3 separate regions of the Homo sapiens genome follow, and regions 1 and 2 are each linked to region 3. Evidence: promoter capture Hi-C in human tissues and cell types (Jung and others, 2019). All regions are on one chromosome and are shown on one strand. The core of a region is centred on a gene start or on the middle of the fragment in contact, and the rest is flanking DNA. Distances in the headings are between cores, read along the strand shown. Region 1 holds the start of ARRDC2 (arrestin domain containing 2). Region 2 holds the start of MPV17L2 (MPV17 mitochondrial inner membrane protein like 2). Region 3 holds the start of TMEM221 (transmembrane protein 221).

Region 1 (3,275 bases), core at 323-2,822, 560 kb after region 3:
GGGAGACCGTGGAAAGAGAGGGAGAGGGAGACCAAGGGGAGAGGGAGAGGGAGAGGGAGCTTAAAAATTGTTAAATTGTTATACATTTAAGGAAAAAACAGTGACACTGGAGGGGCGAGGCCAGTGGAGGTGCTGTGTGACCTCGGGCAGAGCCCCACCCATCTCTGGGCCTTTGGGGTCCGTCTGCGAAATGAATTGAGGGAGGCGCTGGCTCAGTAGTCCCTTCAGGGTTACCTAATCCCGCTTCTCCTCCCGGACTTAACGGCCTACTGTCTCCCCTCTAGTATCCATTGAAACCTGGCCTAAGGTCCCAGACCTTCCTTTCAACTCCAAAGACCCATCCTCCCAGGCAGCCTTCCAGGCTGATCACTGTGCCTCCAACTCCGTCGTTCCTGTTCCGATCCCCATCACGGGCTGAGGGTGACCGTGTTTGTTTATGACCGCCCCCTCCACCCACACACCTCACTGAGGTGGTGGAAGTCTCCTGAGCCAGGCTCAGAGGCGGACAGTCACGGCAGGGGATGGGTTCAGCGGCAGCGCATTACGCTGCCACGAGAGGGCGCCAGCGTCCCGCAGACGACGCAGAGGCAACTCCCGCTGGAGAAACTCCATGCGACTTTTCTTTGGGGAAACTGAAGCCCAGAGAGAGGTCACGCCGTCCCGTGGCCACACCGCAGCTGTGGACCTGGGGGTGCCCGAGCGTCCCCTGCATTCAGCTCTGTGGCGGGACGGGGGCTGAGGATGACTGGAGCAGGCACAAGGGCTGCGGGGAAGGTAGGGTTTGCCAGAGGCTGAAAATTGGGAAGGGAACATCATTTCGTAGGTACCGCTCCTGGGCGAATGCGCCGAGGCGCGACCGAGTGACGGTATGTCAAGAGCAGGTTGATGACCCGGGAGCGAGGCTCTTGGAGGAGTCCAGCTGGGGCTGCACGATGATCCATGCACAACCTTCTGAGGTCAGGACTGATTTTTACTTTCTCCCGGCTCTACAGAGGTGGAAACTGAGGCTCCAAGAGGTTGTCATTTGCCCAGAGCCACCAGCTAAGCGGGACTTGAATCAGGAAAGGGGTGCAGCAGGCACCAGTGTGGAGGGCGGTCCCACCCACCTCCTCCACTTCTCCCTTTGCATAGCGGGGGAAACAGGCCTGGAACAGTCATAGGCTCTCTGGCCCTCAACTGGGGCGAGAGTCCCCCGCCCCAAATCGGGCTGGACATGCCTCGAGTCACGTCAACGAGGGGCGGCTGGTGAGTGATTAAGCCGAGAGGCTGAAGGCTCTGCTAGGTGACCTCAGGCCTGGGCCCTGCCTCTGCACCTCTTTTTTTCCTCTTTACCCCCGGGGTCCGCGAGAGACCAGCTCTGGCAGCCTAAGGGCTTCAGTTTCTCCCCGGGGTCCGCGAGGGAAGGGGGCAGCCGGCGGTGAGCAGGGGCGTTTGTTATTTTGCTCCACGCCTGGGCAGAGCCACGCCCCTTGTCGCGCTATTGGTGGAGTCCCTTCCCGGGGCGGGGAAGAGACGGTGACCCCACCCCCCCCCGCCCTGCCGTATAAAAGCGGCGCCGACGCACGGCGCGGGGATTTTCTGCTCCGGTTGGTGAGCGCGCCTGCGCGTTGACGGCGATTTTGCGTTCTGAGGCTGCAGCGTCGGCATCTTGAGCTGCCGGTTCGCGAGTTCGAGGCCAGGTTCCGCCTGTCGTGGGTTCGCACCCCGGACGCGATGCTATTCGACAAGGTGAAAGCGTTCTCGGTGCAGTTGGACGGCGCGACCGCGGGCGTCGAGCCCGTGTTTAGCGGCGGCCAGGCCGTGGCGGGCCGGGTGCTGCTGGAGCTGTCAAGCGCCGCGCGTGTGGGTGCCCTGAGGCTGCGCGCGCGGGGCCGCGCCCACGTGCACTGGACCGAGTCGCGCAGCGCGGGCTCGAGCACGGCTTACACGCAGAGCTACAGTGAACGCGTGGAGGTCGTGAGCCACCGCGCCACGCTCCTGGCGCCAGGTACGGATGGAGGACCCCTGCTCCAACACCAGTTGTGTGCCTCCCACCACCTGGACGGCGGTACCTCCGTCAGCCCTGGGACCCCAGCGCAACCGCTCAGTCGCCTCCTTTTTCTCCTACCTGCAGATACCGGGGAGACCACGACGCTGCCTCCTGGGCGCCATGAGTTCCTGTTCAGCTTCCAGCTGCCCCCGTAAGTCCTCTGGGGTGCAGGGTTGCCCTAAGCCTGCAGCCCCTTCCAGATTGGTACCTCCAATACTGGATATCTGGGCACCTCTGAGCCCCAAGACTCTCCCCCTGGGAGGCCCCCGGAGTGTCTGTGTCTCCTTCTCCCTGCCTGCTTGTCTCTGTATCTTGTCCCCTGAAGTCCCGTCCCTCCACCCTAGGACCCTGGTGACATCCTTCGAGGGCAAACACGGTAGTGTCCGCTACTGTATCAAGGCCACCCTGCACCGGCCCTGGGTCCCAGCACGCCGGGCAAGGAAGGTGTTCACTGTCATCGAGCCTGTGGACATCAACACGCCAGCCCTGCTGGTGAGTGGCCACCCTTGGGGAGGTAGGTTGGGAGTATTGTAGGAAGGGGCCTGCCTGGCTGCTGGGCGACACCAACCAATAAGATGGAGGTCATAGGTGGGCCCTGGCAGGGAGGGAGGCAGGTGTGGGAATGCGTGTGGAATCCACTGGGATCTGCACCCATTTGCCGTGTGACTCTGGGCAAGTGTCTTGAAGCCCTCTCTGAGCCTCAGATGCCTCTTCTGTGAAATAGACCAGAGCTAGGGCTTACCAAGTGTGAATTACACACCAAACACTTGGCTTATACATTTCATTTCTGGCTTTATAAGATGGGTTGTGTTCCTGGCTCTATTTAACGGATAGTTCCTGGATTGTTAAAAAGAAACCAAGCCCTGCCCAAAGTCCTCCCTCAGCTGGGGGTGGTTTGGAAGCTCCACAGCGACTGTGGTTTGCACAAAGTGACTCATCCATGTCACTTTCCTCTACACCGACAGGCACCTCAAGCGGGGGCTCGGGAAAAGGTTGCCCGATCCTGGTACTGTAACCGTGGCCTAGTCTCCCTTTCGGCCAAGATCGACCGCAAGGGCTACACCCCAGGTAGCAGGCGGACCGGACTGGGTTGGGACGGGGGCTGGTGTTGGGGTTGCAGGAGGGGAAACTGAGGCCCCACTGCTCCTTGCTGCAGGAGAGGTCATCCCTGTCTTTGCCGAGATCGACAACGGCTCCACACGTCCTGTGCTGCCTCGGGCAGCCGTGGTGCAGACACAGACGTTCA
Region 2 (3,101 bases), core at 3-2,502, 740 kb after region 3:
AATTCAGCTATGACAGGAAATATCTTCTCCATTTAAAGAGGGCATACATCCAGTAAATGACTTTGTAACTTTACTTCATCCTCTTCATTTACATAGGACGTACATTAAGTAACCAGTGAAAACCTCTAGAGGGCATTTAAACCCCAGAAAATTCTTAAACAGGTCTCTTGAGTCCGTATGCTCCACTGGCTCCCACCCTGCGGAGTGTACTTTCGTTTTCAATAAATCTCTGCTTTTGTTAAGCTTCATTCTTTCCTTGCTTTGTTTGTGCACTTTGTCCAATTCTTTGTTCAAGATGCCAAGAACCTGCACACCTTCAACAGTTAACAGCCCACAGGCAGTAGTTTGCGACTCTAGTAGAGAATGCATAGGGATTTCCATTGAAAATCATTTTTTAAGCCAGTTACGGTGGTTCACGCCTATCATCATCCCAGCACCTTGGGAGGCCAAGGCGGGTGGATCTCTTGAGGTCAGGAGTTCGAGACCAGCCTGGCTAACATGGCAAAACCCCTGTCTAGACCAAAAATACAAAATTAGTTGGGCGTGGTGGCCCGTGCCTGTAATCCCAGCTGTTTGGGAGGCTGCGACACGAGAATCGCTTGAACCCGGGAGGGAGAGGTTGCGGTGAGCCGAGATCGCGCCACCGCACTCCAGCCTGGGTGACAGAGCGAGACTCCATTTCAAAAAAAGAAAAAAAATAATTGTTCCCTACGGGAACGGTATAATTAGGATATAATTGTTTCTGGCCACAGATCACATCCCTTCTGGTTAAGTCCAGGAGAATCTGGAAATACGTAGGGCAACCAGGCCAGAAGGCGTTGTAACTGCCTAAGATTGACCAACCCTAACGCGGGAGGCGGGACGACGGTCACTGATTTGCCAGCGTGACGCCGGTCTGCGACTGGCCAGTGCCGTCCTGGGCGTGTCGGTAGGACGGGGCTGCGACGGTTTCCCATAGGCTGGCACAGAAAGGGGCGGGGAAACAAGAGTGCAACGTTACCAATCGGCATGCGGGACGTAACGCAATTCTTTTTTCCGATTGGTCCGTGAAGCTCGGGAGGTCGTTGGGGGCTCGACCTTGGGATAGAACGCCTGCCTTTTATTGGTCAATACTCTTCGGGCCGGGCAATGTGGCTCCCCGAGGCTGCCTGCGATTGGTGAACGCGTCGCGGCTCGGGGCGGACCTGCGGACTGAAGATCCTTATGCGATTGGCCGGGGAGCCGGAGGGGCGGGCAATTTGGGATCGACAGTGACTCGCGACTGGTCGGCGCGGCGAAAGCAGAGCGGCGCGCCGGTTCCTTGGTTCCTGAGGGCGATGGCGCGGGGTGGCTGGCGCCGGCTACGCCGCCTGTTATCCGCGGGGCAGCTTCTATTCCAGGGCCGCGCGCTGCTCGTCACTAACACGCTGGGCTGCGGCGCGCTCATGGCGGCCGGTGATGGCGTGCGCCAGTCCTGGGAGATCCGCGCCCGGCCCGGCCAGGTTTTCGACCCACGGCGCTCCGGTGAGGACGCCACGCTGCTTAGTCCTTCACCCCGGGCGACCTTTGATCCCGACACCCGACTGCGGGCCGTGACCCCTGACCCGTGGCCTCAGTCCCCCGCAGGACCCTTGCCCTGACCGCGCCTCTCCCCGGGTGTCTGTCTCCCCGCAGCTCTGGGTCTCCATCACCTCCCAACCCCCGGAGGTCTCTGCCCACTACCCAGGAGCCTCTGGAGCCGCGCCTCCTGGTGGGGCTTGTAGTGGAAGAATGCACGGGTGGGCTCTTCCGGTTTTCCCGGTGAGGCTGAGGCTCCGGGATGGCATTGGGCTTACCCAGGCCTTAGCCAGGGAGGGAGAGAGGGAATGGACTGAGGAACTTGCCGGCCCGACCCAGCCCCCTGACTTACACTCTTATAGCGAGCATGTTTGCGGTGGGCTGCAGCATGGGTCCCTTCCTGCACTACTGGTACTTGTCGCTGGACCGCCTATTCCCTGCGTCTGGCCTCCGAGGCTTCCCAAATGTCCTCAAGAAGGTCCTCGTGGATCAGCTGGTAGCCTCTCCATTGCTGGGCGTCTGGTACTTCTTGGGTAAGGAGCCTCCTAAGCCTAGGCTTTGCCTCTCATAGGTCGGGAGGGGTGGAGCCAGCTTTGTGTTAAGAAGGATGCAGAGGTGCATTTCCAATTTGCCCCCTGTTTGGGTCGCCCTGGACTAGGAGCCAGGTCACAGCGGGGACAGGACGGACTCGGCCGATGTGAACGCTGGCGAGTGTAGGAGGGACGAGGACTGTATCTGTTGGGGCTGCCCTGGGCGGGAGGTTGAGAGCATTTCCCAAAGAAGGGGACCACACTCAGTTGAGACATGAAGAGGGAACCAGCGGGCAGAGGGAACAGCTAATGCAAAGGCTCTGAGGCCTGAAGGAAGAGAAATTGAGGCTAGACTTAATGGGGTGCAACCGTGCCAGCCCTAGGCTCGGTAAAGACAGCGGTATTAATAGAGGAGTCTCTCATTCTCCACCTCCCAGCCCGGCTTCCTGGTCTGTGATGGAAAAGTAACACAACTCCCTCAACTTCAGGGTGTCTCCATTGGGGCACGTGTTTATATGTTTATAACCTCTCTTTCTCTCACTGGGACTGACTTGCTCTGTTTTGTCTCTACACCAGCTACCCTAATTCTCTGTCCATCCCATCTGAAAGTCCCTGTCCCTCTGCCCGGGGTGGGCGGCGTGGGCTCTCAGGGGCCCAACCCCGCCCCCTCCATCGTCAGCCCATCTTGTCGTCTCAACAGTACTTCCTGGCCTCTAACACTCTCATTTCTTGGTTTGCTTCCCAGGCCTTGGCTGCCTGGAGGGTCAGACAGTGGGTGAGAGCTGCCAGGAGCTGCGGGAGAAGTTCTGGGAATTCTACAAGGTGGGAGCACCCGCCCCTTGCACATGTCCGGCCCCGCCCCCTGATGGCCGCTCCGCCCCCGCCCAGCTCTGGCCCCGCCCCTCATCCCCCGCCTCTCCCCGCAGGCAGACTGGTGCGTGTGGCCTGCTGCGCAGTTCGTGAACTTCCTCTTCGTGCCCCCCCAATTTCGAGTCACCTACATCAACGGCCTGACGCTGGGCTGGGACACGTACC
Region 3 (2,925 bases), core at 34-2,533:
CTGTCTCTGATGCCCTGAGCCAGATCCATTCCCCTGCAGGCAGGCACCCAACAGATGTTTGCTGACCCGTGGGACCCATGCATTTCATTGTCCCTTGGGTGGAAGGTGCATGGTCTGGATAGGATCTACCTCAATGGTGGGAGTTCTCATCTGCTCAATTTCACAGAATTCTGGACTAGAATTTGGGCTCCTCTCCCCCGACATTCTGGAGAGAAACACTACCATGTGGGACAGCGGAGTCCTCAGCTCAAGGAGGGTTCCTCCTTCCACAACCACTGCCCCTGATAGGGGTCCCTCAATGACCACATCCCTGACTGAGTTCAGGTCCCTGAGGAAGGAACTCAATTTCAGACCAGGACACAGGCTCTGGCTGGCTCTACCCAGAACCAAGTTCAAGTCCAGCACTGTCCCGCCTCCCACCCACTTCCAAGCCAGACAGCCTGAGAGCTCAGCCTCCCCTGTTTGAGATCCAGGCAAGCTGATCCTGGACCCTCTTTGAGCCTCAGTTTCCTCATCTGCAAAATGCGAGACACAGCAGTGGTTGCACCTGCTGCAAAATTGAACAAATATAGAATGGAGGGAGGGAAGGAGGGAGGAGGAGAGGAAAGGAGGGAGGCAGAGAGACATGGAGTGGTGGGGAGAGGGAAGTGGGGAGGGAAGCTGTCCCCCCAGCCTGAGGCCAAAAGAGGGGAAGAGGCTCAACCAGGCTCACCCAGCCCCCAGCCGGGCCTCCGAGGCGGTGAGGCCAGTCCTCCTACCTCCTGGGGCCAGGCCCCCGCGCCAGCTCGGCGCCCAGGTGGCCACAGAGCGCGGCGAGCAGCAAGCAGGTGAACCCCAGCACGAGCACCAGCGCGGCCAGCGCGGCGGCCAGCGGCAGCAGCGTCCCGGCCGCGTCCTCTGGCAGCCCGGGGCCGGCGCCCAGCTCCTGGCCCAGCCCCTCGGCGCGCAGCCCCCGCAGCTCGGCGCGGCCCGCCTGCAGCTGAAACAGCAGCTGCGCGCCCAGCGCCGCCAGCACGGCCGCCGCGATGCCCAGCAGGGTCATTGCAGCCAGCACCCGGCCGCCGTAAGAACGGGCCATGGCGGGGGTTCCTGCGGGCCGGGGGAAGAGTTGAGGAATTGAAGTGGTTTTAGAGGGCAGGGGAGTTGGGGGGAATCCGAGGGTCCTCAGGGGGTCCCCGAGGGGGCGGGGCCGCAGGGAGTGTCTGAAAGTTCGGGGACTGGGCTGGGGGTCGCCAGACGGACGGGGGCTCCGGGGTGCTGGTCGCAGCCGGGACGCCGAATCTCCGCGAAAACTTGGGACAAAGTCTTTTCTCCTCCCTCCCGGGGCCCCGCGGGCGCCCCCTCTTGGTCCGCTGGGCCTGGCGGGGCGGGGCCTGGCACCGGGCGCAGGGCGGGGAGGCCCCACTAGGGACTGGATCGCGGGAACCCCACAGCTCGCTAAGTTCAGAAAAGGGCACCACCCCGCCCCCTGCCGCCCTAAGCATCGATTGTATTGTGGTTTAAAACAAGAAAAAGGAGGCCGGGGGCGGTGGCTCTCGCCTGTAATCCCAGCACCTTGGGAGGCCGAGGCGGGCGGATCACAAGGTCAAGAGTTCCAGACCAGCCTGGCCAATATGGTGAAACCCCGTCTCTACTAAAAATACAAAAATTAGCCGGGCGTGGTGGCCGGAGCCTGTAATCCCAGCTACTCGGGAGGCTGATGCAGGAGAATTGCTTGAACCCAGGAGGCGGAGGTTTCAGTGAGCTGAGATTACGCCATTGCACTGCAGCCTGGGCGACAGAGCGAGACTCCGTCTCAAAATTAATTAATTAATTAATTAAAAAATAAAAAATAAAGAGAAAGGAGGCCGGGCGCGGTGGCTCTCGCTTGTAATCTCAGCACTTTAGGAGTCCGAGGTGGGCGGATCACTTGAGGTCAGGAGTTCAAGACCAGCCTGGCCAACATGGTGAAACCCCCGTCTCTACTAAAAAAAAAAAAAAAAAAAAAAATTAGCCCGGCGTAGTGGTGCATGGCCTGTAATCCTAGCTACTCGGGAGGCTGAGGTTGGAGGAATGCTTGAATCAGGGAGGCGGAGGTTGCAGTGAGCCGAGATTGCACCACTGCACACTCCAGCCTGGCTGACAGAGTAAGACTCCATCAAAAAAAAAAAAAAAAAAAAAGAGAGAGAGAGAGAAAGGGCTGGGTGAGGTGGTTCACAACTGTAATCCCAGCACTTTGGGAGGCTGAGGCAGGAGGATGGCTTAAGCCCAGGAGTTTGAGACCAGCCTGGGCAACATAGCCAGACCCCATCTCTACAAAAAATAAGGAAGTCAGCCTGGTGTGGTGGTGCACGCCTGTGGACCCAGCTACTTTCGGGACTGAGACAGGAGGATCGCTTGAGCCCAGGAGGTCGAGGCTGCAGTGAACTGAGATCACGCCACTGCACTCCAGCCTGAGTGACAGAGCGAGGCTGTGTCTCAAAAAAGAAATAACAAAATTTAAAAATTCACTTTTCATTTGATCTCAACCCAGGGACTCTGTCATTGGCTGTGATTTCCCCTCTGCTTACTTCCTTCAAGCCTTTGGGTAACCGTTGCTTCCTCTAGGAGGCTAGGGAGAATCCTGGATCCCTTCCCCAACTGGTCCCCCAAATTATTCGCACAGCACTTTAAAAAAATCGAGATGAAACTTACATAACATAAAATTAATCATTTTATTCAGTGGCATTTAGTGTTGTACAATCATTACCTCTGTCTAGCTCCAGAAGATTTTCATCCCCCCAAAAGGAGACCCCATCCCCATTACCAGCCACTCCCCATTCCCCCTCCTCAAGTGGCTCACAACCATTAATCTACTTCTTGTCTCTGTCGATTTGCCTGTTCTGGACACTTCATATCAATGGAGTCATACAAGAGGTGGCATTCTGGCTTCTCTCACTCTGCATG

What was found. The method cuts DNA at HindIII sites, captures the fragments that hold promoters and counts their contacts. A contact is called where the count stands out against the background at its distance.
Region 1: a contact is called between the fragment with the promoter of ARRDC2 here and the fragment with the promoter of TMEM221 in region 3, in 1 of the 25 tissues and cell types used here (IMR-90 fibroblasts).
Region 2: the fragment with the promoter of MPV17L2 here is called in contact with the fragment with the promoter of TMEM221 in region 3 in 2 of the 25 tissues and cell types used here (mesendoderm cells and thymus).

The regions. Positions count from the first base shown.
Region 1 is chr19:18,006,598-18,009,872 of GRCh38, forward strand. ARRDC2 (arrestin domain containing 2) reads left to right here and starts at 1,573. Exons shown (of 8, transcript NM_015683.2): 1 at 1,573-1,987; 2 at 2,114-2,180; 3 at 2,374-2,521; 4 at 2,995-3,097; 5 at 3,186-3,275. The coding sequence starts at 1,714. RefSeq lists an enhancer at 1,627-1,846. The HindIII fragment of the contact is 21,109 bases long and covers 1-2,758 here.
Region 2 is chr19:18,191,966-18,195,066 of GRCh38, forward strand. It overlaps MPV17L2 (MPV17 mitochondrial inner membrane protein like 2), which reads left to right and starts at 1,253. Exons shown (of 5, transcript NM_032683.3): 1 at 1,253-1,503; 2 at 1,899-2,069; 3 at 2,812-2,888; 4 at 2,993-3,101. The coding sequence starts at 1,317. RefSeq lists a silencer at 778-957 and an enhancer at 1,348-1,397. The HindIII fragment of the contact is 8,354 bases long and covers 1-3,101 here.
Region 3 is chr19:17,447,385-17,450,309 of GRCh38, forward strand. It overlaps TMEM221 (transmembrane protein 221), which reads right to left and starts at 1,284. Exons shown (of 3, transcript NM_001190844.2): 1 at 759-1,284. The coding sequence starts at 1,078. RefSeq lists a silencer at 1,298-1,417. The HindIII fragment of the contact is 11,612 bases long and covers 1-2,925 here.